Regions from separate parts of the Homo sapiens genome. Here all the other regions are linked to region 3. Evidence: promoter capture Hi-C in 16 types of primary human blood cells and fetal thymus (Javierre and others, 2016). All regions are on one chromosome and are shown on one strand. The core of a region is centred on a gene start or on the middle of the fragment in contact, and the rest is flanking DNA. Distances in the headings are between cores, read along the strand shown. Region 1 overlaps JAM3 (junctional adhesion molecule 3). Region 2 overlaps NCAPD3 (non-SMC condensin II complex subunit D3). Region 3 holds the start of IGSF9B (immunoglobulin superfamily member 9B). Region 4 overlaps NCAPD3 (non-SMC condensin II complex subunit D3). Region 5 overlaps NCAPD3 (non-SMC condensin II complex subunit D3).

What was found. Contacts are between HindIII fragments. The CHiCAGO score rates a contact against its expected background, and 5 or more counts as called.
Region 1: a fragment that was not itself captured here is called in contact with the fragment with the promoter of IGSF9B in region 3 in 1 of 17 cell types (total CD4 T cells); the score reaches 6.6 in total CD4 T cells.
Region 2: a contact is called between a fragment that was not itself captured here and the fragment with the promoter of IGSF9B in region 3, in 4 of 17 cell types (naive CD4 T cells, naive CD8 T cells, non-activated CD4 T cells and 1 more). The highest score is 6.2, in naive CD4 T cells.
Region 4: a contact is called between a fragment that was not itself captured here and the fragment with the promoter of IGSF9B in region 3, in 7 of 17 cell types (activated CD4 T cells, naive CD8 T cells, naive CD4 T cells and 4 more). The highest score is 14.1, in activated CD4 T cells.
Region 5: a fragment that was not itself captured here is called in contact with the fragment with the promoter of IGSF9B in region 3 in 4 of 17 cell types (naive CD8 T cells, total CD4 T cells, activated CD4 T cells and 1 more); the score reaches 6.8 in naive CD8 T cells.

What each region holds. Positions count from the first base shown.
Region 1 is chr11:134,097,415-134,102,816 of GRCh38, forward strand. All of the region lies in intron 1 of JAM3 (junctional adhesion molecule 3), which reads left to right. Among named protein-coding and RNA genes, the nearest start is that of JAM3, 31 kb to the left of the region's middle. The HindIII fragment of the contact is 8,110 bases long and covers 1-5,307 here.
Region 2 is chr11:134,159,900-134,165,277 of GRCh38, forward strand. It overlaps NCAPD3 (non-SMC condensin II complex subunit D3), which reads right to left. Exons shown (of 35, transcript NM_015261.3): 28 at 1,882-1,992; 29 at 1-175. Among named protein-coding and RNA genes, the nearest start is that of SNORD153, 11 kb to the left of the region's middle. The HindIII fragment of the contact is 667 bases long and covers 3,430-4,096 here.
Region 3 is chr11:133,953,897-133,958,861 of GRCh38, forward strand. It overlaps IGSF9B (immunoglobulin superfamily member 9B), which reads right to left and starts at 3,072. Exons shown (of 20, transcript NM_001277285.4): 1 at 2,795-3,072. The coding sequence starts at 2,858. RefSeq lists a silencer at 2,901-3,250. The HindIII fragment of the contact is 2,603 bases long and covers 1,355-3,957 here.
Region 4 is chr11:134,178,737-134,183,641 of GRCh38, forward strand. NCAPD3 (non-SMC condensin II complex subunit D3) reads right to left here. Exons shown (of 35, transcript NM_015261.3): 20 at 2,341-2,448; 21 at 86-200; 22 at 1-5. Among named protein-coding and RNA genes, the nearest start is that of SNORD153, 30 kb to the left of the region's middle. The HindIII fragment of the contact is 429 bases long and covers 1,093-1,521 here.
Region 5 is chr11:134,194,549-134,200,047 of GRCh38, forward strand. NCAPD3 (non-SMC condensin II complex subunit D3) reads right to left here. Exons shown (of 35, transcript NM_015261.3): 14 at 117-190. Among named protein-coding and RNA genes, the nearest start is that of NCAPD3, 27 kb to the right of the region's middle. RefSeq lists a silencer at 3,542-3,742. The HindIII fragment of the contact is 695 bases long and covers 2,615-3,309 here.

The DNA.
Region 1 (5,402 bases), core at 3-2,502, 140 kb after region 3:
CTCCTTCATTTGAGATTCGGTGAAATTCGCAAGTACCTCTGGAATCATTTGATGAACCTCTTTGGAGCATTAGTGATGCAACTTAATGTCTTTGGCAGGGACATTTCTTCTCACATCTTATTGATACTGGGTTTGAGGAGCAGGCTGACTTCTGGTTGTGTAGTCAGCTCTCGGTTTTTTTCTACTAATGGAGAAGGGAGGCATTATAGGGAATGGAAAATTCAAGTTGCAAAGCATTAAAAACAATTTAAAATTATGTTTCATTTAAACTAACAATTGCTGTATTTCTGACCAAATAATGTTTACTTCAGGATAATGTTTTCTTGATTTATTTTTATATTACAAGTTGCCACTTTATAAATTCTACAGATCATGGAAAGTAGTTTAAAAGAGTGATCTTCAGATTTTTAAATTTAAAGTCTATTCTTAATTTTCTTTTATATATATGTATATATATATTTATATACACACACTTTGCACTGTAAGATATTGAGTTTATGACATTAAGGACTCTGGCCCTTCAGTTCTTGAAAATTTAGTGCTTATAAAATTGTGAGGACTATATTCTAATCATTTTCAGTCAGTGAAAAACCTATATACTTTATGAAGCACGCAGGAAACATCTCCTTTTCTGCTTAGTTCCCCTAAAAATGTGGATCAGATCCATCTCCTGGGCCTAGTCAGTATTGATTGAGTGTATACCCAGGGCATCGTGCTAAAGTGTCACCCAAGCTCTGCTCTCCAGGGGAAGAAGAGCTAGCCATTCCTTTTACTGTGCATGCATATGTATATAGCTCACCTATATCCAGAAAACTTAGTTTACAAATGGACTGCTTTTTAGGGAAGGAGTGGACACAAAAGTTCAACTTCAGAGAGGAAAACTAAGAGCAATGCCAAATTAACTGAAATCTTCTGTTTTGAAAGAGGTCTTTTAATTTAAAAAAAGCTAGTTCTTGGAAAAAGCACAATAATCAAAACCAAATGTACCTCATTAGAAAGTTCACGTGAGATAATTTGGGATTTGCAAAATTAGTTTTAATCAATTGTGAAGGACAGCAAGACTATTTCTACCTGTGCCAGGTAGAAATAGTATGTATCTAAAGTCAGAACCATTAGTGTCGGGGCAAGTATAGATACTCATTCTCTGTAGTTGGGTCAGTTGTCTTCCTTATATGTTCGCCTTAGCTAAAATGGCAGAGAGAAATCCTTGTTGCATCATAACAAGGACATTGTCAAAGTACACTGAACTCATGAATTAGACAAATAGCAGCATTGTATCTTCTTTTTCTGGGCCTGATTTTGAGGTATACTGCACTTCCTAAGGGTGATTTCAGAGCTAGCTTGCAGGTGGAGCTCCACCTGCTGATACTTGTGAGGGATAGCTCAGTAAGCACTCCTTCAGCTAGCATGTTTCCCACTAACATTCACACTGATACTCCAGCCTAGAGAAAGACCTTTGGGTTACACCAGTCTCCAGAAAGCCTTCATTTAAATGCAACTAGGGAGAGGCGTGGTGGCTCACCACCTGTAGTCCCAGCACCTTGGGAGGCCAAGGTGGGCAGATTGCTTGAGCCCAGGAGTTCAAGACCAGCCTGGGAAATATGATGAAATCCCATCTCTGCAAAAAATACAAAAATTAGCCATGTGTGGTGGTGCATGCCTGTAGTCCTTGTATGCTTGGGAGGCTGAAGTGGGAGGATTACCTGAGCCTGGGGTTTCGAGGCTGCAGTGAGCTGTGATCATGCCACTGTACTCCAGCCTCAGTGACAGGGTGAGACCCTATTTCAAAAAATAAAAATAAAAATAATACTACCAGGTTGCATGGGGGAGGAATGAGGTAATTGTAAAATGAAGGTTTCAGGGAAAAGCCTGGGCAAGCAGCTCTTGGCCTGGGAAAGGCAGGCCCAGGAACAGATTTCAGAGTTGTCCCAACAAGTTGGGTGAAATCTGTTTCTATTTGCTTCATTTTCTTTTTCTCTCCTACTCCTCACTACTTAGAAGGGGATTTGAGGGACCCATTTAGATCCTTTTCTCACTGTCTCGCCCTCTCTCTGATGGTGGTATTGAGGATAAGACAGTATTTGTCATCTGTAATTAACTGTACTGCATTTGTAAGGCAAGTTGTGCTGTACTTGATTTTTATGTTTCTTTCAAGATTTCTGCCCTTTGCCTCCTGTATTTTTCTATTTATTTGTTTATTTATTTAGGGACAGAATCTCGCTCTGTCACCCGCCCAGGCTGGAGTGCAATGGTGCGATCTTGGGTCACTGCAACCTCCACCTCTTGGTCTCAAGCAATTCTTCTGCCTCAGCCTCCTGAGTAGCTGGGATTACAGGTGTGCGCCACCACGCCTGGCTAATTTTTGAATTTTTAGTAGAGACGGGGTTTCACCATGTTGGTCAGGCTGGTCTCGAACTCCAGACCTCGTCATCCGCCTGCCTTGGCCTCCCAAAGTGCTGGGATTACAGGCGTGAGCCACCGCGCCCGGCTTGCTTCCTTTATTTTTCTAACCTCATCATTTTCTGCTTTGCTCAGTGGAGATTTTCCAATAATGTCACCCAAAATATACTTTTAAGTCAATGTGTGCTATTTTTTAAGTCACTTCTGACTTTAATGTTAGACCTCTCCTTTGATGAAAGTTAAATCTCATGACATGGGAGAGTGACATTATATCTTTAATTAAGATGTTAAATTCTTCTCAAATTCTGTTTCTGATTAGAAAAGTACTTTGAGGTGAATCCCCCTTTCCTCCTTAAAAAAAAAATAGTGGTCAGTTCCTATCTCTAGGTCTTCAGTGAAATGATCCCATTTTTCTGATCCAAACAAGTTTCTGTGGCTCATCTGCTCTGCAGAGCCCTGTGTCTTCTGAGGAACGATTGCTTTCTGCATAACATACAGTGTTCTTTGCTGCTTTCCACCCACAGAGCCTTTCTTGCTGAGGAGGAGGTGTGATATAGGAAAATTATGAGGGCTTTTCAAACTCGCTTGCATTGATGGCCCAGATGGTGAGGAAAATCCCTTGGGGAGCTAAAAATTGAATGGGTTATAGCAGATTTTTAAAATCCCTAATTAGACTCTCCTTCTCTTTAAGACCACTTTTGAGTTACCACTGTATTTATATATCTGAGTCCTGTTTCCCAACTGCTAGTGAGCTCCTTGAGGGCATCCTTGGGTCTGTACACCACTGAAATCTCAGCACCTAGAAAGCAGTTCTCTAATAGTGGCTGATACCATGTGAATGCATTCTCTGCGTCAGGTCCTGTACTCAGCACTTTACGTATGCTCTCTTACTCTTACAACTGGAGGAGAAAGGTATTATAATTATCCCCATCGTATGGATGAGAAAACAGAAAGATTGGTGAACATCCAAGCCAGAAACACTTGATAAGCAGTAGAGATAGACTTCAAACTCAGATGTTCTAGAGTTTCAGCTCTTAACCACTATATTATACTGCTTCCTTACTAGACAAACACTTAGTTTTAAAGTAAATATTTTTTGAGTAAAAAAGTGAATGAAGTAAAGTTAACTAAAGTTAATTTCCTGAAATCACAGTGATGTTTATGTCTTCTTTCAATAAACCATTCTCGGTATAAGTGGTCAGCCAGGATACATGTTGCTGTGCCTGGTGCTCCTTGTAACTCAGGAAGATATTGCCCCATTCTAAACAGCCAGCATGGGGTAACAGTGTAAGCACTGTGAACATTTCTTCTCTGTTCTTACCCATCTTCAAACAGAAACAACCAGGAGCAGTTTAACAGTGATACTTGAGTTATGAACTTCATACATATTGCTTAATTGTAATGGCAAATTAATGTGTTAACATTTATAGAATGGTACTGTCATTGAAGTTTGAATTTAAATGTGGGTTTTAACCCAGTTCTATAATAATTGCTGTGCTCTGGGAAACACTGAATCTTTTCAAGGAGGACAGCTATTTAACTATAAGTAGAGTCATTTGAAATGCAGAAGACCAGAATATTTATTCAAAGAGTGGTAGCAAAGAAGTGAGATGAGAACTGAGGTGGAGTGTTCTTTCCATCCTAGTGGAGAGAACACAGAGCTGTGAGTCAGGGTATCTGGAATCTAAGCATGTCTCCAGGCTTAAGTTTCTATTGTGAGTTTAGCTAAGGCATTCCTGTTGATAATACTATTGCTCTAATACCAAAAAGTGTCCACTAGAAAATAGAGTAACCTTTGTGCCTTTGTAATGATAGTGTTCTTTTGGTATAATACTCTACTACCACAAGTATTGCCTTTTATCATCTTAAAAACAAATCTGATCATATTTCTCCCCTTATTTATTCTTTTTCCTCCAGTTTTTATCGAGTGCTAGCTATGTGCCAGGAATTTATAAGTCCTTTATGTGTGATAACTCATTTATAAGCTCATGCCTGTAATCCTAGTATTTTGGGGGGCTGAGGTGAGAGGATTGCCTGAGGTCAGGAGTTTGAGACTAGCTTGGGCAAGATAGCAAGACCGCATTTTTACAAAAAATTTAAAAATTAGGTGTGGGGTACACATCTGTATTCCCAAGAGTCTGAGGTGGGAGAATTGCTTGAGCACAGGAGTTTGAGGCTACAGGGAGTTGTGATCATGCCACTGCAATCCAGCCTGGGTGACAAAGTGAGACCCTGTCTGTAAAAATTATAGTAACCTATTTAATTATCTCAGCCACCTTACGAAGTAGGCACTAATTTAGACATTTCATAGATGAGAAAACTGAGGCACAGTAACATACCCAACGTAGCATGGTAAGGGATGGAGTTCATATAAAACCCAGACAGTTCAGCAGTATTCGCTGTCCTGCAGCCTCCGCTGCTGATAACCCAGGCAAACAGGGTCTGGAGTGGACCTCCAGCAAACTCCAACAGACTTGCAGCTGAGGGTCCTGACTGTTAGAAGGAAAACTAACAAACAGAAAGGACATCCACACCAAAACCCCATCTGTATGTCACCATCATCGAGGACCAAAGGTAGATAAAACCACAAAGATGGGGAAAAAACAGAGCAGAAAAGCTGAAAATTCTAAAAATCAGAGCGCTTCTCCCCCTCCAAAGGACCGCAGCTCCTCACCAGCAACGGAACAAAGCTGGACACAGAATGACTTTGATGAGTTGAGAGAAGAAGGCTTCAGAGAATCAGACTTCTCCGAGCTAAAGGAGGAAGTTCGAACCCATCGCAAAGAAGCTAAAAACCTTGAAAAAAGATTAGACAAATGGCTAACTAGAGTAACCAGTGTAGAGAAGTCCTTAAATGACCTGATGGAGCTGAAAACCATGGCATGAGAACTACGTGACGAATGCACAAGCTTTAGTAGCTGATTCAATCAACTGGAAGAAAGGGTATCAGTGATTGAAGATCAAATGAATGAAATGAAGCGAGAAGAGAAGTTTAGAGAAAA
Region 2 (5,378 bases), core at 2,513-5,012, 210 kb after region 3:
CAGGTGCCACCTCAGCACCTCCAGCCGTCCCGGCCACATCTGCATGTTTTGCTAGCTCCTGCTCCTGGACCAGCTGTTCCTGGTACTTCTTCATGTCATACTCAAGCTCTGATGCCAGCTGTTTGTCAACTGCAAAGAAGTCCTTGAGCTCATCTCGGTAATCCTGCATCACCTCCTGAAACAGAGCCAGGAGCATCCTTTCATGTTTTCTTGAATAAAAACGTAAAGCCCTAAACCCCCACGACACACCTTCGCCTGTGTAACAAACCTGCACATCCTGCACGTGTACCCCTGAACGCAAAATAAAAGTTAAGAAAGAAAAAAGCCCCCCAAGTCATGTTGCTTGATAAATCATAGGAACAATAGGACTGACATTACTGAAAGCAGATGATTTCCATTCCAGTAACTAACAGGTACAATGGTATATTTGGAGCAAACACCACTGGCCACACAAGCAGAAAAATATGTGAGTAACTAACAGTTCTCTCTCTTAGGAAGCATCCTGGCTATGTGGCAGTTAATGGGCAATCTCTCCCAGGTTCCCAATGGGAGAAAGACATGCTCAGACACAGCCTCTGGAGCAAGTCCCAGGATGCATGGATCTAAAAGCTGCTCATCTGTCTACATTAGCCTCCCCATTGGCTCTCAGGGGATTCCAACTAAGGCTCAAATCCCATCTTTGTGTCTTCTTCTGAAGATTTTACAGAAAACCTTTTCTCATACCTAGGGAAAAACATTCTTAGGTCTTAAAGAGGGGTGCCAGGGGCAAGACCACTTTGCTAAGAGAAAGAATCATTCCACCTAACAGTAATAGGGAGAAAAAGACACTGCAGTTCCAACTGGGAGGGAAGTCTCAACAAAGAGAAGGAATCCATGCACTTTTCCAGCTGCCACTAGGAGTGGGTTCCACAGGCCAATGAAGAGACTCCCTCAAGCTACTGACAACAAGCAACGTGTGGCCATCCTGTGTGTGTGCTCACAAGCAGGAGGAAGGCTTATTTTTCTTAAGTGTTTAAGTAGTCTATGTAGGATCAAAGCTCTGTTTTTGTTTTTTTTTTTCCTTTCTAGGGTCTAAAGTCAGGCAATAAATACAAGAATATTTGGAAGTTTTTATTTTTATCATACAATGAGACTATCTTTCCTACCTTGGCTTCCTAGTATAAAAAGCTATTTGAAAATTTATATTCAATGTAATTTTTGTTGAGGCCTTTATTGGAAAAAAAATTGTAGCATTTTTTTGAGGAAGAAAAACACATAATGTGAACAGAGCTATAACTGCTGAATTAAAGAAAAACTATGTTGCATTTATTTCTTAGTAAAAGATTTTGCAAGAAAGGTCTGAGGCCCCACTTAGGTCCGCCCTGCAAGTCAACACATCCTGGGTTTGCTCCGACTGAGCTCCTCATGGTCCCCTTGCTTGACAAAGAATTCAGCCTGGTGATGGCAGCTCCGAAGGCAGCTCCTGCAGGGCAGTTATTTCCTGACCTTGTGAATCTGAGTCAGTGCAAAAGGTAAGCACCCTGAAATCAAACCCGAAGACTCACTTTCACCTTACCCCCAAGCAGCATGAACGAAGATGACTGTGTTCTTGACCCCAGCTGGGAAAGTTTTCCAGATGGACTTGAACTCCATTAAGGGAAGACGTGCTTGGCACAGTGGGCCGGCTCTTCACGGCCCTGGCTGCACATCCAAGGGAAAGAGCGGCTTTGGTGGAACCCACAGCCAACCCCTAGCTCCACAGCAGTTACCAAGGTAATGTTGGGTTTGCAGAATTTGGGGTTCTAATCATTCACGGATTGCCTGCACTGTCATAACTGGCAGAAGATCCTAAGTAATGAACTGGTAGGACAACAACCACAAAAGCACAGGCTCCACCCTTACCCTGAGATAGTGCATGAGTTCCCGCAAAGCTGGGATCTTATTTTTCTCCAGCACAGTCTTCAGGGAGATGATAATTGGAATAATATTTTCTATGAAATTCCTCTTCTGAACCTGGTAACACAAACAAAGACATGTTTTAGATGTATGAACTTCTGAAAGACAGGCCTCTCCTTGATCTAGTTCTTTGAGTAGAGCCACCCTACCACACTATGTAAGTTTATTTTTGCTTTTCATTATGATACTGGATGTAGAGGACCTCTGCTTTTCTCTGGGAGACTTTGTAAGCATTACCTCAAAACACTCTGAAGGCTTTGTAAGATAGGGTGGGGACAAATACTACTCATATATTCTAAATGGGGAAAAAGAATTAGAAACATGTTGAGTAGCTTTTGACAAAAGCCCCAAATCTCCACAGAAGACCCTGAGGGACCTTGGCTCTTGCTCCACCTTCAGTCCTCAATTCAACACCCTCCCCTTGGAACAGAAGTCAGCTCGTTCTGGCTACCCAGAGGGACACTTCGTATTCCTGCTGGTGAAGGGACAATGGTCTAAAAATGGCTAAGCATGAAGACAGCCAGCTCTGTCTCTCTCTCTGTGTACACATCTACAAAATACTATGAATTTATATATATAGTACCTGATTTGACCAAGTCTTCACACTTTACCTTGAATGATCACTAACCACAAATATTCTCCAGTGAATCTCTTTAAATTAAAAAAAAAGCACTATAGTAGCCCACATATGCAAGATTTATCCTCCTGAAGCTGAAACTACTCTTTTCCTTCTCATTTAAAGTCACTAGTGTATGTTTCTTCCTTGTAAACTACTCATTTCTAAAAAGTCTTATCAGAGTTCCTGAAACAGAAGGACAACAAGTAGAGAAATAAGCAATTTAATAAACCCAGATGTGAGCAGATGTTATGTTCAGGAATAGTCTTAAGAAGTGGCTTCCATGCATTCACTTGACAAGTATTATCAAGCACCTTCTCTGTCCAGGCAAAGAGCTAACCCTCTGAGGATGCAAAATGAAGCTAAGCATCCCTGCCCTCCAGCCACTTCTAGAAAGTGTGTGTCTCAAGGGAAGAGGTGTTAAGTGGCAGGGTGTTAGGGAATTTAGGTATGGAGATGGGATGCCTAAGGAGTGCATGGCCATCTGATGGATGATCCTGAGGATGTGTGGAGAAGGGAGGATGGGTGGGTGAGGGCGCTGCAGACTTTAGACCCAGAGGCAAGAGCACACGAGTAGGGGGCAGCTCGCAACTGAGGTGCAGATGGCAATTTGAAGTGGAGAGGTTAGAGGTGAGGATGGAGGGAGGTATGGGAAAGGTGGAAGGCACACCAGAAGTTCTTGTTTACCTTGAAAAAGAAGAATCAGGGTTTATTCAGAAGATGACAGGAAGCCACCAGCATAGTTTTTAAAGATTTCACTAGTGAAGTATAACATATGTAATAAATTTACCCATTTTAAACAAACACTTCCATGAGCTTTGACAAAAGTCTATATGGAATAACCAGCACTACAGACCACTCACCATCTATCACCCAAAAGCTTCCTGCCACCCCTCACAGTCAACCTGCCTTTAGTCTGTTTCAGATATAATAAAATGATCAAATTTGTACTTAAGAAAGACTGCTGGGCTGGGTGTGGTGGCTCATGCCTGTAATCCCAGCACTTTGGAAGGCCGAGGCGGGCAGATCACGAGATCAGGAGATTGAGACCATCCTGGCAAACACTGTGAAACCCCATCTCTACTAAAAATACAAAAAAACTAGCCGGCCGTGGTGGCTGGTGCCTGTAGTCCCAGCTACTAGGGAGGCTGAGGCAGGAGAATGGCATGAACCCAGGGGGGCAGAGCTTGCACTGAGCAGAGATCGTACCACTGCACTCCAGCCTGGGCAACAGTGTGATACTGTGTCTCAAAAAAAAAAAAAAAAAAAAAGTTAGCCAGGCACAGTGGCAGGGGCCTGTAGTCCCAGCTACTCGGGAGGCTGAGGCAGGAGAATGGCGTGAACCTGGGAGGCGGAGCTTGCAGTGAGCTGAGATCGCGCCACTGCACTCCAGCCTGGGCGACGCAGTGAGATTCTGTCTCAAAAAAAAAAAAAAAAAAAAAGAAAAAGAAAGAAAGACTGCTCTGGCAGCAAGGTGGTACATGGCCTGTGACAGAAAGAAACCAGAAACAGAAAGGGTGGTAAGGAAACCATGGAAATGGGATAAGCTTAAATAAGGTCAGAACTAGAGAGATAGATTGGTAAGAGAAAACAGGCAGGATCTTGTGGCAAGATATGATCAGAGTCTATATCCTTGGAGTCAAAAGCCTCCAGAGGCCAGGTGGGAAATACACATTGGCAATCCAGGCTAGGAGGAAAACACAGGCCTGCAGAGGCCTGTGGCAGCCAAGCTCTGCCCCAGTCATTCAGATCCAAATTCTACACTTCCTGCCAACAAAAGCCTCAGCCTGACACACCAGACTCCAGTCTGCAAGAGCACCATAAACTGTGGGAGAAAGAGGAGATGAAGAGCAGAAAGAAGAGATGACTGAGGGAGTTTTGACAGAGTAAGTCAGAGACACCCGGAGCACGTCCTGGCAGCAGGGGGACCTGAGCTCAGGCTCATGAGAAATGCTGGAGTGGGAAACAGGTTTGAGAATTGTCACCATCTGGCAAGAGTTAAAGCCATCAGTAAGAAAGAAGTCAGCACCAGAGCATGGCACCAGGATTCCAGGGAGAACACGGAAGCCAGTAGATGGTGAGAAGAGTGGGACACTCACTTGTGAAATGAGCTTAGGGGAGCTGCACACTCACTTGTGACATGAGCTTAGGGGAGCTGCACACTCACTTGTGACATGAGCTTGAGGGAGCCGCATAATCACTTGTGACATGAGCTTGGGGGAGCTGCACACTCACTTGTAAAATAAGCTTAGGGGAGCTGTACACTCACTTGCGACATGAGTTTAGGGAGCTTCACACTCACTTGTGACATGAGCTTGGGGGAGCTGCACACTCGTGAAATGAACTTAGGGGAACTTCACACTCATGAAATGACCTTAGGGGAGCTGAACACTCACGTGTGACATGAGCTTGAGGGAGCTACATACTCACTTGTGACATGAGCTTAGGGGGAGCTGCACACTCACTTGTGAGATGAGCTTAGGGGGAGGGGCACACTCACTTGTGACATAAGCTTAGGGGAGTGGCATGCTCACTTGTGACACAAACTTAGGGAAGCTGCACACCCACTTGTGAGATGAGCTTAGAGGAGCTGCACACACTTAGATTAGCTGAGGGGGAGCGGCACACTCACTTGTGAAATGAGCTTGCGGGAGCTGCACACTCACTTGTGAGATGAGCTTAGGGGAGCAGCACACTCACTTGTGAGATGAGCTGAGGAGGAGCTGCACACTTGTGAGATGAGCTTGGGGGAGCGGCACACTTGTGAGATGAGCTTAGGGGAGCAGCACGCTCACTTGTGAGATAAGCTGAGGGGGAGCTGCACACT
Region 3 (4,965 bases), core at 1,822-4,321:
ACTGACCTTAATCACCTCCCAGGCACACACACTCAAAGTCAAAAGGAGGAGCCCATTCCAACCTCTGTCCCGCACCCGAGGGCTGATGGAGTCGGGTCCCAACACAACATCATCCCTTTCCCCCTCTGCCAGAGCAGCCCCTGCTATGGCCAAATCCTAAGGGTGGCATCTCAAAGTCCCTCCTGCTGAGGGACTGCCCCAGAAGTCACCTCTGCCAGTCAGGGAACAGCTGAGCTCTCACAGGGAGACTCAGCAGCATGTGGACACTGGCTGGTGCTGCTCACACGAGCGGGCGCCCACCCGCTCTCTCCAGAGGCTGTGTGTTGCAAGCCCTCACTTCCCGGGCTGTGTCCTTCCATAAACCTCTGGCCACCAACAACACTCCAGCTTTGGAGACCTTGCAAAGGACTTCCGAGCAGCTTTGAGGCCCGCACATCCTGCACACGTGTCCCTGGGATGCCAGGGACAAGAGGTTCTGCCCAGACAAGGTCAGCCCAGAAAGGGGTCTTACTTCCTGACACAGGCAGCCTTCTGAACTTCCCCGCAACACATTCTCAGCTCCTAGTGCCCTGAATGGCCCAAGGGAAAGAAATTGAGGAGGATCTTGGAATCCCAGGGACACTGAGAAAATAATGTTAATGTTTACTGAGCACGTACTATATAACAGGTAGTTGTTTTGTTTCCTTATAACACTCATGTCCACCTAAAAACCCTAAAAGTACATGCTATTGGCACATTTTCTATTGAAGCAAGTGACATTTAGAGAGGTTGAGAATTTGTCCAAGGTCACAGGGTCGGCAGGTGACACAGCCAGAATCTGAATCCCAGTCATATGGCTCTAGACCTAGGTCCTTAACTACCACACACAGAGCAATTGAGGCTAAGAAAGACCCCAAGACCAGCAAGGTCACCCTCTGCTTCCAGACAGGGGTACATGTCCAGCCATTCCAGACAGAAGGACCCCTCTGCACCCTGAAAGAGGGCATAACCTTCATGCCAGGCAGCCTTCAATTTTGGGAAGCCCTTCCTTCTATCTTGCGATTCTGCGTGTTGCTGCAGTATAAACTCACATTCCTTTATTCTGGGCTGAAACTTGCAAAGAAGTCCATTGCCCACCCTGACTTAGGTTCGGAGGCTATTTCAGAGCCTTCCTTCAGCGTCTCTTTTCTATTCAAAGATCCCAGCTCATCCTTTTGTGCTTTCAGGGACAGTCCCATAGCAGGAACATACCAAAAACGGGAGGGGAGGAGGATGCGGGCATTGGAAGACGGCAAGGAAATGGGGGAGAGGATGAGGCTACAGGCAGACTGTCAAGCGCAGCCCGATGCACCTCACATCCACCCCCCGTTCCGTAAGCTTCCGCCATCACCCTTGCCTCAGTGTTCCCACCTGACAAATGAAGAGTTTTAAAACCGTCCGGACCAACATGTCAGTTAACAAAATCACCCTTCGCTTCGCCCTCTGCTCGTTCTGTTTTCAGACACCACCACCCCCCTCAGAAGCAGAGGCGACATATTCATTCCATTCCGGAAAGTTTCCTGAAGCACGCCCCCCTGCACAGACGAGTGACGAGGGGACCCCGTGAGAGGCGCCTCCAGCCCACCCGGCGCCCCATGCCGCTGGGAGAGGGTTCTCTGTCGGCGAGTCCTGCCTGCTGACTCCCACCCACAGCGGGTTCTCTCCCGCCGCCATCTCCTCCGGCTTGGTGAACTTGCCCGCAGCCGGGTCGTGTCTGCGCGCTGACAGCCCTGAGCTCACAGTCCTGGCACCCTCCAGGCTCCGCTCCCACTTCCATACAAGGGCCGAGAGCCGGGGGTGCCACCCAGAGGCTTGTAGGTCGCTCTGCCCATCTCCAAAGCAAAAGCCCGCGCGCTCACGCACGCATCACCCAACTCGGTGGCTCCCCCCTTGCGTCTCCCCCAGCTCAGACCCAGGAAAGCGGAAAGAGAAAATCCCCCCTCCGCTCGGATTCACAGCGTGGGGACCCCCCCTTCCCCGCCCCTCCCCTCCCCCGCCGCCGCCCCCAGCCAGCTCTGCCTCGCAGCCTGGGGAGGGCGGCGTGGGGCCCGCGCGGCTGCGGCGCGCTCCCGGGGAACTTTTGCCTGGCCGGGGCCCAGGTGCGGCTGAGAGGCGCGGGGGCCGGCGGGGTCCAGCCAAAAGCGGACACACCTCGAAGCTGGCCTCATCAATCCTCCTCTCACCGGGCGCCCCTGCTAGGGGGATCCGACCTCCAGCTGCCAAGATGTGTGGGCAGGAGGGGCGCGAGCGGAGCGATGGACGCCCGCAGGGCCGCGCGAACCCGGGGCCTTAGACGCGGGTGCCGCCAGTCCCAGGGATCCTCCGGGTCGCGCCTCCCTGCAGGCGCTCCTCGCGGCGCGGGGCTCTAGCGTGCTGCAGCCTGCCCGGAGACCGCAAACTCCCGCAGCCAGAGTTTCCCGCAGCTCTGGGAGGCGGCCGCCGGGCAGGAGGCGACGGGCTAGGCGCGCCGGTGTGCACCGTGGGGCCCGTGGTGGGCGAAGTCGACCCAGGTTCCACTGCGTCCTTTCCCCGAGTGCCCGGCAGCCCGTGGGCTCTGGCCCCTTCCCGCCCGCCCCTCCAGCCCACGGCCCCCAGGCCCTCCCCGGCAATGCTCCCGGGCCGCCTGGCCCGCGTCGGAGCCCAAGCCTCACCCGCGGGAAGGCGCGCCGGGGAGCTGGGGAACCGGGGGGCCAAGGAGCCGGGAAACCGAGGGGCCGGGCGCGAGGGGCCGAGGGCGCCGGGAGGGGCAGGGGAGGGACGCCGCACTTCAACTCACCTTCAGCCGCAAGCCCTCGGGTGCCGATCACACTTGCTATGAAAGTGGCCACATACCAAATCATAGTACTACCGCGCCAGCCCGGAGCCTCATCCTATCGCAAAGTGCTCCCGCGCCCGCACGCGCCTCGCGCCCGAGCGCCCGCCTCGCGCCCGCCTCGCGCCGCCTACGCCCCGCGCCGGTGCTCCTGCAGCCCGGGTGGCCAGCTCTCCATCCCTCCTAGGCTCCGCTCGGCTCGGCGCGCGCCTCCCCGGCCCCGGCGCAGCGGCACCTGCACTACTCGCCCGGGCGGAGCGCAGCCAGGTCCACGGTGAAGCCTAGCCGGGCCGGGCCTCCGGAACCGCCCCCGCCGCCCGCCTATTGGGCGCCGCCCGCAAGCCGGGGGTCCGATTGGCTCAGCCTTCCGCCCGTCGCGGCGCGAAGGAGGCGAGCCCATTTCAAGGTGCGTTGAAGTGTGGCGAGCACAGAGCCGCAGAATCATGCGCATTGCCGGGGAGAAGGTGGTATAGCGTCTCTGCCCGCTTCTCTCTCGGCTCACACTGCGTGGCAAGTTTCTGGTGAGGGAAATGGTAGCTTCTAACGGGACCCTGGCGGGTCTCAATTACCCCGGACAGGTCTGAGGGAAGTGGAGCCCCCGCCCACTCATGGAACCCAACATCCGGTTTCCATCCGGCAAAAAGCAGTTCCCGAGAGGACCATGCTGATTCTATGATGGGGAAACCCAGGAGCCGGCGGCCCGGGAGAGCCGGGGAACGTCCTTCGCCGGAGATCTTTTCAAAGAGGTCACGCGCCGCCTCCCCACCCCGTCTCCCTCCGCACCCAGACACGTCCCCAGAGCAGCGCACCACCCCCTCCAAACGTGATGCAGACCGGGGGATGACTAAAATGACCTCTCAAAGTCGCTAAGATTTAGAGTGAGTCATTGGCTCAGCTGCGAAGTGCCACAGACCCCTCAGGAACACTCGTGCACACACACTCCACCCCCAGTGCTGGTCACTGCTGCTCATCATTACTGAATCCCGACTCCAAGCAGTCAAAGTTGGGTCTTTTTCCCACTTCTCCTGATAAAGGCTGCTTCCTCACGCACATGGTTCCTCCCCTCTCCACCTTACTCGGAGCCCAGCCCCGACTCGGCCGCATGAAACCAAGATGGGTTTGGGGGAAGCTTTAGGAGTCTGGGATGGAGGAGACCCAGGGAAAGGGAAGGAGCTTCTCATCCTACAGAGGAATGTAAATAGGAAACTGGAAGGTCTTCGTATGTTCCAGTCTCCCTACCCTAGCCTGTCTGCTTCCCCTCCCCCAATACAGTTGTATTTGCAGAAGAAATAAATGAGTGTCATGGAAACATCTACTACAAACAATCACCTCACACCAGCGCTCAGAGGCTGCAGTGAAGATGTTTGTTCTTTCAAGGAGTGAAGGCAGTGGTAAGAATCACACCGCTCCCTGGGATGGGCTGTTGGCCAAGGAAGGAAGGCAGAGGGTCAGCGAGCGAGAGCTCAGGAATTTCATCCTCTCAAAGCACTCGTTAGCCACAAAGCCCTGGCTCCAGGACATGAAGCTCCCAAAACAACAAGAAGGAGACTTGCTTCTGGGAAAGCGTGCACACAGGTACACACACATGCACAAAAAGTGGCCTTGAACACCGGAGGTGGAGCATTCCCTGACACCGGAAGCCTCTTAGCTCACCGCCAGCTGGGAGGCAGAAAGAGGCCCCCAACAGAGCAGTCAGTGAGCACATGGATAAAGGTCGAGGGCCTGGATAGATCCAGAGAACCAGGACTGTTGAATAACCTTCTACCCTACCCACCCCTCCACCTGTGCAAACACACTCAAGATGCATAACTTGGGGCCATCTCTCCCTGAGCCATGATTTTGGTTCTCTTCTTGGGCAAAGATGCCTTTCTGGGGACAATGAAGTGAGCTGCTCCAGGTCTCATTGATGCAGTGATCTCCAGGTCTCATTGATGCAGTGATTTCCAGGTGGCATGACCCAGAATAACTCCACCCCCAACACACACACACACATATACATACACACACACTTACACACTTTCCCAGGGCCCCGGGACTGTAAAGACATATTGGAATCCATTTGCAGAATTGGTCATAACAGGATCCTTCTCCTCCCACAACCTCTAAGCAGCTAACTGTGGCCTAGAGAAAAGTGC
Region 4 (4,905 bases), core at 57-2,556, 220 kb after region 3:
TGGTGCTGCAAAGAAGGGAGAGAAAGTTACCGACAGAACCTTGAAACGGCATGCGTGCTACAGAGTATGATTTCAAATGCCTTACAGTGGTCAGCATCAGCAGACGAAGCCAGGACGGACTGAATCAGAAGGAAGATGCGCTTCTCCACCCTGGCTGGACACAGCTGGGCTATATCCCCTAAGGTAAAAATGTACTTCACCTACAAAGATAATTGGTTTTACAGTAAAAATAAGGCAAAAGAAAAGTGAACTCTAGCTAGATTAAGGACATGTCAATGGAGTATTTCCTTTATCCCCCAAATTTAAAACAATGTTACTAGTTTTCGTTTCATAAAAATACATGGCTATTGTAAAAACTTAGTCACTATGTAATGAAACTCATCCAAAATTAGGGCAAGCATATAATTTTATCATCTAAATCTAGACACATCTGCAAGTAAAAGGGGGTGCTATTAATAATTATTTTGTGAAAATAGGTGTACGCTAGGGTTATCTTGGGTAAACTGGGATACATCTACCTATAACCCTACCACCCAGAGACACCATTATTGTTTTTGTGTATAACTTTTTCAAAGTATTTCTATAGTCACGTGGCTTTATGTTTACTTTTCTTATACACTTACCAAGTATAGTATTTTGAAGTCTGCAATGATTACTTTGAATATTAGGCATCGTTTCATGTCAATATGTATGACACATATGTTTAATGACTACATAAGTATATGCCATTTCAAAACTAGGACTGTCGTCATAACTTACTGCACTATTCCAGTATCAATGAACACTGATGCTGTTTCCCTTTGCTAATGTTTCGATTAGCTCTGGTGAACACCTGTGTATCCTTAGATACTGCTCTCTTTCCTCAGAAGTAAAATCCAAGGTAAAGAGTATATAAAGCTATTTCACATTTTGAAACACATTTTCAAGTTGCCCTCCAGATTATTTTTCTATGTAGACCCCATCAAAAACCTACTCACAGCTGCCATGCTGTGTTTCTTCATAACATTCAGTTTAACAACTAAGTAATATTGTTCTTTTTTTATTTACACCCCAAATGAAGGGATGATGCTGAATAGTAAAATGTCAAATAAAAGCTTATTCTAGGGTAAGAAAGCCAATAACAAAGTATATGAGTTTAAAAGAATCTTGAAATACTGTATCTCTTCATTAAAAAAATATTTAAGTTCTATTTAAAGAAGCAAGAATGAAACTATGTATATAGGGCAAAACCTCTCCATATATATTTTGACTGAAGAGTAGATTTTGATGACACGGTTAACAGTTGAAAAAAACCTGGGGGAGGAGGGGTGGGGACAAGACTCACTGACCATAGTAAGCATCTTTCTTAATGTGGGCAGAAATGAGAAGAGCAAGACCCTCTAGAAGCCCTGGGCCAAGCCTGTGCTACACTCCCTGGTGCTCTTACCTAAAGCACCCAGGTTCCCATAGTGAGGCTCTGTATTCCTGATCACGTGCACAGTAGTGCCTCAGGCTCAATGGTCTTCTCTTTGAACAAATCTAAGCTTGGTCGGTGATCACTGGGCGTTAGGAGAGCTAGGCCAACAAGCAGAAACTGAACACAGAAAAGACGTGCTCCACTAATTTAAACATATGAGAAAAATGGCCCGTTTTGGTTAAATAATGATCTGTGCTGAATGGCATCAAAAAGCAGCTCATTATTTCCTTTACTGGACAAAGTCAGATGTTGGAACCAGAATTACTGCCATACATCTTATCCCCAGTCAGCCACTGAAATCAGCCCACTGTCCCGTCCTGGCTCACGGGAATTTCTTGCACCGTTTACAGTTTCTAAAGCAGGGGTGCCACAGAAAACAATCTTGGGGCTCCAAGGTCATCTGTGTTCTGAATTGTCAAATCTCTCATTTTATTTCAGTCATTACTTGGCAATTGCTCAGCACTGTTCCCCAGTTCTACTGTCTGATGTTCAAATAGCTCAGAAGACATGTTAAATTTTTAAAAAAGCAAACACACAAACCAAAAACACTATACTCACATTATTATTTCTTACCTTACATTTCTAAGCTTGACTATACCAACCTTACAACACATACTGTGTTTTCCCTACTGAAATCAGGCTTCTCATAAGACTGAACTAGATGAAGCGTATACCATTGAGTTTCCCCACCGATAAAAAGTATATAAGAAAAAAATGAATAGGTTATCAATTTAAAAATATCTTCTAAAAAGAGAAAGTAAGCTCTAGGCTAAGACAGCTCTTTTGTTAAAAGCATTTAAAGCGTACATGACAAAGTCATCTTTAATAGAACCTCACGGATAAAATGGAAGCGAAAAGAATGGTTAGGAAAAGCAGTCGCTTACCAACAGGTCTTCGTCCATATTCCCTGTTCCATTCTCCTTGAGAACGATGTTGGAGAGGCGGTGCTCGCAGGTGGAGAGTACATCCCCACACACCTGCGTCAGCAATTCCTACGGCAAGTCAAAAGTCATCTCTGAAGGGCCCCGCACATCTCCCAGACTACCCATGAAACACCATGTTCTCAGAAGAAACTATGATCTTCAAATGGATAGGCTGTAGGGGTGCTTCCTAGCTTTCCTCTTTCCCACAATTTGTCCAAAACCACAATGACATGCATTTAAGCAATCTAGCCATGAGTACTGGCTAAGTGGAATTTATAAAGAACGGTGTATATATCATCTTTCTTTTTACATTTGCCCTATAAGAGCAAAAGGCCAAATATTTACAATGACCCCATGTAGTAATTTGTAAGAGATCTATAATAGTAGTGCTCCTCCAAAAATACAGAAATAAGCTGTAGTTTTGCTGCCATATACAGATGATGAATTAACTACTGTGATAAACATTTTTTAAAGACATAAAATAGAGTTGCTACTCTTCTGAAATTTATGCATTAGGGACAAGTGTTCCGTGTCTCTCACTGATTACAATAACTTCAAGGGGTGACTTCTAGTGCACATTGGACTGTTCCTCTATGCCAAGGAAGAGAGAGAGCTCCCAACCACATTCTAGAATTCTTGGACCTCATTTTCTGTAGGAAACCATTCCAAAACACCTAGGTTGAGCTAAGGGCCTCCACCCCCTTGCTTCCATGTTACCCGATGCCGACTTTTATTTTAGGAATGATGACATTATGTTGAAATTATCTGCTGATGTGCACGCACCTCCCCCACTCCTCTGTAGTGCCTTAGGAAGGGACCTGTGTTAACCATCATCCAGTGCCTGGCAAGCCACCACTATGAGCAATGCTTTTAGTCTGACTTGCCCTAACGTATCTGGAAACTATTGGCTTTATTACTTCTAAAAGAACTATTACATTTAAAATTTTAATAGATTGCACAACCTGGACCACAACATTGGCCCAAAGAGTTTCTGCAATTCTTATGCTTGATCCCAATGAGGCCAGAACCTGGGTACTAGGACTAGTAAGTTTCGGTATCACAGAATCTGGGAAAGCTGACAAGGCCACCCAATCCTGGCATTCTCTCCACATGGCAGCCTGTTCCAAGTCCTTGTCCAGCTTCTCCTGAATACCTCCAATAACAGGGGACATGCTCTGGGGCAAGCCCACCATTTTGGGCAGACCTCAGTAAGTTTTCTCTGCAGTTCACCAAAATTTATAATTTCCATTCATTGGTCCAGATAGGTTGTCTGGGAATACCAAATAAATCCAATTCTTTTATCTGAAAGTCCTTCATAAATTTGAATTTAGCTAGGCAGCCTACCGTCCCCAACCCTTCCCTTCTCCATGCTAAAGACTCCAGGCCCTTCTGCAGTTCCTTACATAACTTGCTTTGTGATACCCTTATTTAACTGCTCTCCTCTAGTTATATTCAATTTCATCAACACTTCTCTGTAAATTTGTCACTGATACTGAACTATCAGCCAGCACACAGGATCACTGCTCCTCTTGTTCTAGACACTATTTCTACTGATACAAGATCTCATCAATTTTTTAATGACAGTCACAAAACAGATAACAAAAATGCCCAAAGACCACAGTCCTTTCATATATACTGCTGCTGAGCTATATCTTTGGGTAATCTGTTGCTCTCAGTAAAATAAATGATATTCACTTACAGAGAAAAGAAAAGGAGAAGCGTGTTTAGGGGAAACAAGCGGGTCACATGGATTGAAAATATCCTAACATTCCAGACAATCTCAGGGCCTTGCTCCTCTGTCAACCACCAAGTGAGGTTGTGTCGGCAGATTAAAACCGTGGCGGTCTTTGCTAATGCAGTAGTAAGCCCCACCCGCTTCCAGCTCTCAGTGTCTAACCTGAAGACAGTTCTTGCCTTCCTCATAGGCTCTCATGACAATGTAACCACCGTCCTAATGGCCCTGGGCCAGCAGCAAGCGGCAGATGACTTCCTAGGCCCTGACTGCGCGCTGTACACATGATTCTTTTTCCAACCAGTGCTGGTGAAAAGAAAATTAGGAAAAAGTCAGAGGCCTTAGTTCTAGTCCCAGCTCTGCCGGTAGTAAGTTGTGTACCACTGAGCCTGGAAGGCTTGTGGTTTCATAGTCTGTAACGTTAATTCCTCCTGATCACTCTTTCCTCAGTCTTACCACGCCTGTAATCCCAGCACTTTGGGAGGCTGAAGCAGGCGATCACTTGAGATCAGGAGTTTGAGACCAGCCTGGCCAACATGGTGAAACCCTGTCTCTACTAAAAATACAAAAATTAGCTGGGCCTGATAGCATGTGCCTGTAATCCCAGCTACTCGGGAGGCTGAGGCACGAGAATTGCTTGAACCTGGGAGGCGGAGGTTACAGTGAGCTGAGATTGCGCCACTGTACTCTAGCCTGGGTGACAGAGTGAGACTCCATCTCAAAAATAAAAATAAAAGTTTGTCATATAATTTCTTGGGTCTTGAGATAAAGGGTTAGAAAAATCAAATAATGCA
Region 5 (5,499 bases), core at 1,712-4,211, 240 kb after region 3:
CAGTTAGGCGAAAAGCAAATTAAGTAATGAATATGGCCTAAGAGTTTAAAAAATATTCCTTTGCATTTCCAAGTTTTTAGTGCTTAAAAAAAAAAATGTGCAGAGAAAACTCCCACCTGCAGTGCAGACTTCCTAACGTTGGTCTTCTCATCCCTGATCCTCCTTCTCAGCATTGCCATGACACATCTTTCTGTAGAGGGAATACCAAAGGGTCATCACAGCTGGAGAAAAGTCACACAGCAGCTAACATTTCACCACACAATACCCAGAAAATACACTCATCTTAAAGACTCATTAGCTTGTTTTAAATCCTAAGAAATGAGAGTGTGGAAAAAGAAGAAAATGTGAATAATTAGGTATTCACTGTAATGCATATAAACTTTGGAATATTAAAAATTTGGTTTTAAATCTCAGCCCCTACCTCTAAAATTGTGAATGAATTATTTATCTCTTCCATTTTGTTTAGCTACAAATAGGAGTATCTAACCCATAGGATTATTTTAAAGATTTGATGAGGTAATATATAACAGCAGCTTTAAAATGTTTGACTTGAAGACATTTTTTTATAAGAGACAGGGGTCTCATTCTGTCACCCAGGGTGGTGTACAGTGGTACAATCATAGCTCACCGCAATCTCAAATTCCTGGGCTCAAGTAATCCTCTCTCCTCAGCCTCCCAAGTAGCTAGGAATACAGGCATGAGCCACCATGCTAATTTTTTTTTATTTTTCTGTAGAGACAGGACCTTGCTGTGTTGCTCAGGCTGGTCTCGAACTCCTAGCCTCAAGTGATCCTCCCAACTCAGCCTCCCAAAGCAGTGAAATTATAGGAGTGAGCTACCACGCCCAGCCTTGAGGCTTCTTTATATTCTTAAAAATTACTGAGGACCCTAAAGAGATTATATCTTTTAATACTTAGAATCAGAAATTTAAACTGAGAATTGTAAAAATATTTATTAATTCATTTTAAAAGAGCAAGATATGTTACTGTTAGTACTTTTTCATAAAAAATAACTATATTTTCCAAAACAAATAAACTAAAAATAGTGAAAAGGCTGGATGTGGTGGAATGTGCCTATAATCCCAGCTACTGGGGAGACTGAGATCAGAGGATCAACTGAGCCCAGGAGTTCGAGTCCAGCCTGGGCAACACACCAAGACCCGATTTTAAAAAAAAAGAATGGCATTGTTTTAGAGTTTTGCAAACTTTAAAATGTCTGGCTTAATATAAGCCAGCTTATCTCTCATCTGGCTTATATTAAACAGGATTCTCATCTCTGTTTCTACCTGCAATCTGTTGCAATTTGATAAGTCATGGGACCACTGGAAAACTCCAATATACATTCGTGAGGAAATCAGAGTGTGGAAGGCAAATGAACACTGCACTCATTTTTACTTCAAGGACCCCTGAGGGTTCCCAAAACACACTTTGGGAACTGCTTATATATAAGAAGGCAGCTTAAAAAATAAAAGATGGAAAACAATAGAGAAAAATCAATGAAACTAAAAGTAGGTTCCTTGATAAGATCAACAAAACTAATACACCTTTAGCTAGACTGGCGAAGAAAATAAGAAAGAAAATTGAAATTGCTAAAATCAAGAAAGGAGGGACATTACTACTATTAGCCTTACATAAATAAAAAGGATTACAAAGGAATACTATGAACAATTTTATGCCAACAAATTAAGTAGCCTACATAAAAGAAACAAATTTTTAGAACGACAAGTTTTAGAAAGACACAAACTACAGAAACTGACTCAAACAGAAATAGAAAATCTGAATATACCTGTAACGAGTAAAGAAACTAAATTAGTGGCCAGGCGCGGTGGCTCACGCCTGTAATGCCAGCTCTTTGGGAGGCCGAGGTGGGTGGATCACCTGAGGTCAGGAGTTCAAGACCAGCCTGACCAACATGGTGAAACCCTATCTCTACAAAAAATACAAAAAAATTTGCCGGGTGTGGGGGCGGGTGCTTGTAGTCCCAGATACTCAGGAGGCTGAGGCAGGAGATTTGCTTGAGCTGGGAGGCAGAGGTTGCAGTGAGCCAAGACTGTGCCATTGCACTCCAGCCTGGACAACAACAGCGAAACTCCATCTCAAAAAAAAAAAAAAAAAGAAAAGAAAAGAAAGAAAAAGAAACTAAATTAGTAATCAAAAATACTTTACACACACACATACACACACACCCCTTCCTAAGGACCAGACACTTAGTGGAGAATTCTAACAAATGTTAAAGCAAAAATGAACAACAATCCTTCATGAACTCTTTCAAAAAATAGAAAAGAATACACTTTCCAGCTCATCTTAGGTGAGTACTACCCTGATAGCAAAACCAAAACATCTCAAGAAAACAACGGATATAGTTTGAGTATTTGTCCCCACCCAAACCTCATGTTGAACTGTAACACCCAGTGCTGGAGGCGGGGCCTGGTAGGGGTGTTTGGATCACTGTGGCAGATCCCTCGCAGCTTGGTGCTGTCTTCAGGACAGCAATACTGAGTGAGTTCTTGTGAGATCTGGTCATTTAAAAGTGTGTGGCACCTTCCCCCTGACTCTTTCTCCTGCTCCCACCATGTGAAACGCCTGTTCCCTTTTGGCTTTCTGCTATGATTCTAAGCTTCCTAAAGCCTCCCCAGAAACAGATGCCAGTGCTATACTTTCTGTACAGCCTGCAGAACCATGAACCAATTAAATCTCTTTTCTGATAAATTACCCAGTCTCACATCTTTTTTTTTTTTTTTTTTTTTGAGACAGAGTCTCACTCTGCTGCCCAGGATGGAGTGCAGTCGCATGATATTGGCTCACTGCAACCTCTACCTCCCAGGTTCAAGTGATTCTCCTGCCTCAGCCTCCTAAGTAGCTGAGATTACAGGCACCTGCCACCATGCCCAGCTAATTTTTGTATTTTTGGTAGAGATGGGGTTTCACCATGTTGGCCAGACTGGTCTCGAACTCCTGACCTCAAGTAATCCATCCGCCTTGGCCTCCCAAAGTGCTGGGATTACAAGCATGAGCCACCACGCCTGGCCACGTATTTCTTTATAGCAATGCAAGAATGGCTTAATACAACAGACCAATATTCCTTATGAATATGACACCAAAATTCTCAACAAAATACCAGCAAACCAAATCCAGCAAGATACAACCATGCTTGGGATTTATCCCAGGAATGAAATGTCAACCTGTGAAAAATCAATCAATGTAAATTACAGCATGGTAACAGAACAAAGAAAACCACACAATCATCTCAAAATAGATGCAGAGAAAGCATTTGCAAATTCCAACACCTTTCCATGATAAAAACTCAGCAAGCTTGAAATGGAAGGAAACTTCCTCATATTGATGAAAGTCATACTAAAAACCTCACAGCTAACGTCGTACTCAGCGGTGAAGACCAAAAGCTTTCCCCCTAAGTAAAGAAAAAAGACAAAGAAGTCTACTCTTTGACTTCTTTTCAACATCATTCCACAGACTGTAAACCAAAAATAAAATTCTAAGGCTCTCCAACCATCTGAATGGACTTCCTCCTCAGCCAGGGCACTCTAAAATTTAACCTGAAGACTGGTTCAGACCATGACGGGATGTGGGGGTCAGACATGCCTCATTATACCCTCCAGCATTAACATCAACACAGTCTTTAAGTCTGATAAGAAACGTTTACAATCTATTCTCTCTGAAGCCTACTATCTGAAGGCTTCCTCTGCAGTAATGAACTTTAGTCTCCACCACCCTTTATCTTAACCCAGACATTCCTTCCTATTGAACCCAGTTCTTTAGACAAACTCAGCCAATTTTCAACAAGAAAAATTTAAAATCTACCTATAAGCTGGAACCCTCCCCACCTTGTCCCTGCCTTTTGGGACCAAACCAATGTATCTATTAAACGTATCTGATTGATGTCTGATGCCTCCCTAAAGTGTATAAAACCAAGCTGCACCCAACCACCTTGGGCACATGTTCTCAGGACCTCCTGAGGGCTGTGTCACGGGCCATGGTCACTCACATTTGGCTCAGAATAAATGTCTTCAAATATTTTACAGAGCTTGACTCTTTCTGTCAACAAATAGGTAAGAAAAAGAAATGAAAGATATCCAGATTGGAGAGGAAGAAGTAGAACTACCTCTATTTACAGATGACTTGTTCTTATATCAAGAAAATCCTAAGGAATCCACAAAACAATCATTAGAGCTCGTAATGAGTTTGGCAAGGTTGCAGGACAGAAGATCAATTATCAAAAATAATTTGTAAAAACTAGCAATGAACAATTCAGAAATGAAATTAAGAGAGCAATTTAATTTGCAATACTATTGAAAAGAATAAAAACACTCAGGACAAAATTTAAAGAGCAACAATGGTTCACTGAAAACTACAAAACATCACTGATACAAATTAAAGACCGAAAGAAATAAAAAGACATCTGGTGTTCATGGATTAGAGGAATTAACAAACGAACATGGCAACACTCCCCAAACTGATGTACAGATCAATCCCTATCAAAATCCAAGATGGCTTTTTTTTTCTTGCAGAAATTGGCAATTAATCTTAAAATTCATATGGAAATACAAGGGACCCAGAATAGCCAAACTAATTTTAAAAAAGAACAAAGGGACAGGAGGAGAACTCATACTTCCTGATTTAAAATTGACTATCACAGGATACTATGTTAACACCAAAATATGACTCTGACATAAAAATTATTTCTGGGAAGACAGTTAAAGCAGACAATTAACAAGCAGCAGCAAACAGAGAAAAAGCTCTGTCTATCCTTTCCCTTTTCTTTATTTATATGGGCAGTATATAAATTCTCCTTTACACACGGGGTCTCTGGACCCTTATCAGCCCAGAGCAATTCACAAAACTCACTCCATTGTTTTCCTCCCACATACAGGCAGTCCCTGACTTAGGATTTTCTGATTTTGCAATAATGTGACAGCAATGCACATTCAAACCATACTTTGAGTTTTGAATTCTGCTCACTTCCTAGCTAGTGACATGCAGAATGATACACTCTCACGATGCTGGGCAGCAAGAGTAGCTCCCCGTCAGCCACCCCATCAAAAGGGGACAACAGAGAGTCTCCAGTGTACTGTACTGCCAGCATTTTTTGGATATGGTGTTTTGTGTTACGTAAGTGGAGTTCTAAGCCCTCAGTTACTTTGCATTGAGATCTCTCCCGCATAACACGCACTAGACATGTTAATAAACTTGTTTGTCTTGTTATGGGGATCCATCCCGAGGAAGAACTCATGAGGACTGAAGAAAAAATTATTTCCCCTCTCCTACGCTAGAACGCAACGGCAATCAACACAATGTGGTACATAAAGACAGATATATAGATTAATGAAATAAAATTCCATTAATATAGAATATAGAGCACACAAATAAGCTCATGAGCTTATACAAGTCAGTCAAGTGATTTTTTTACAAGGGTGCCAAGACACTCACAGGTGAAGGAACAGGCTGAAAGAAACAGTGCTATGTCAACTGGATAGTCACATGC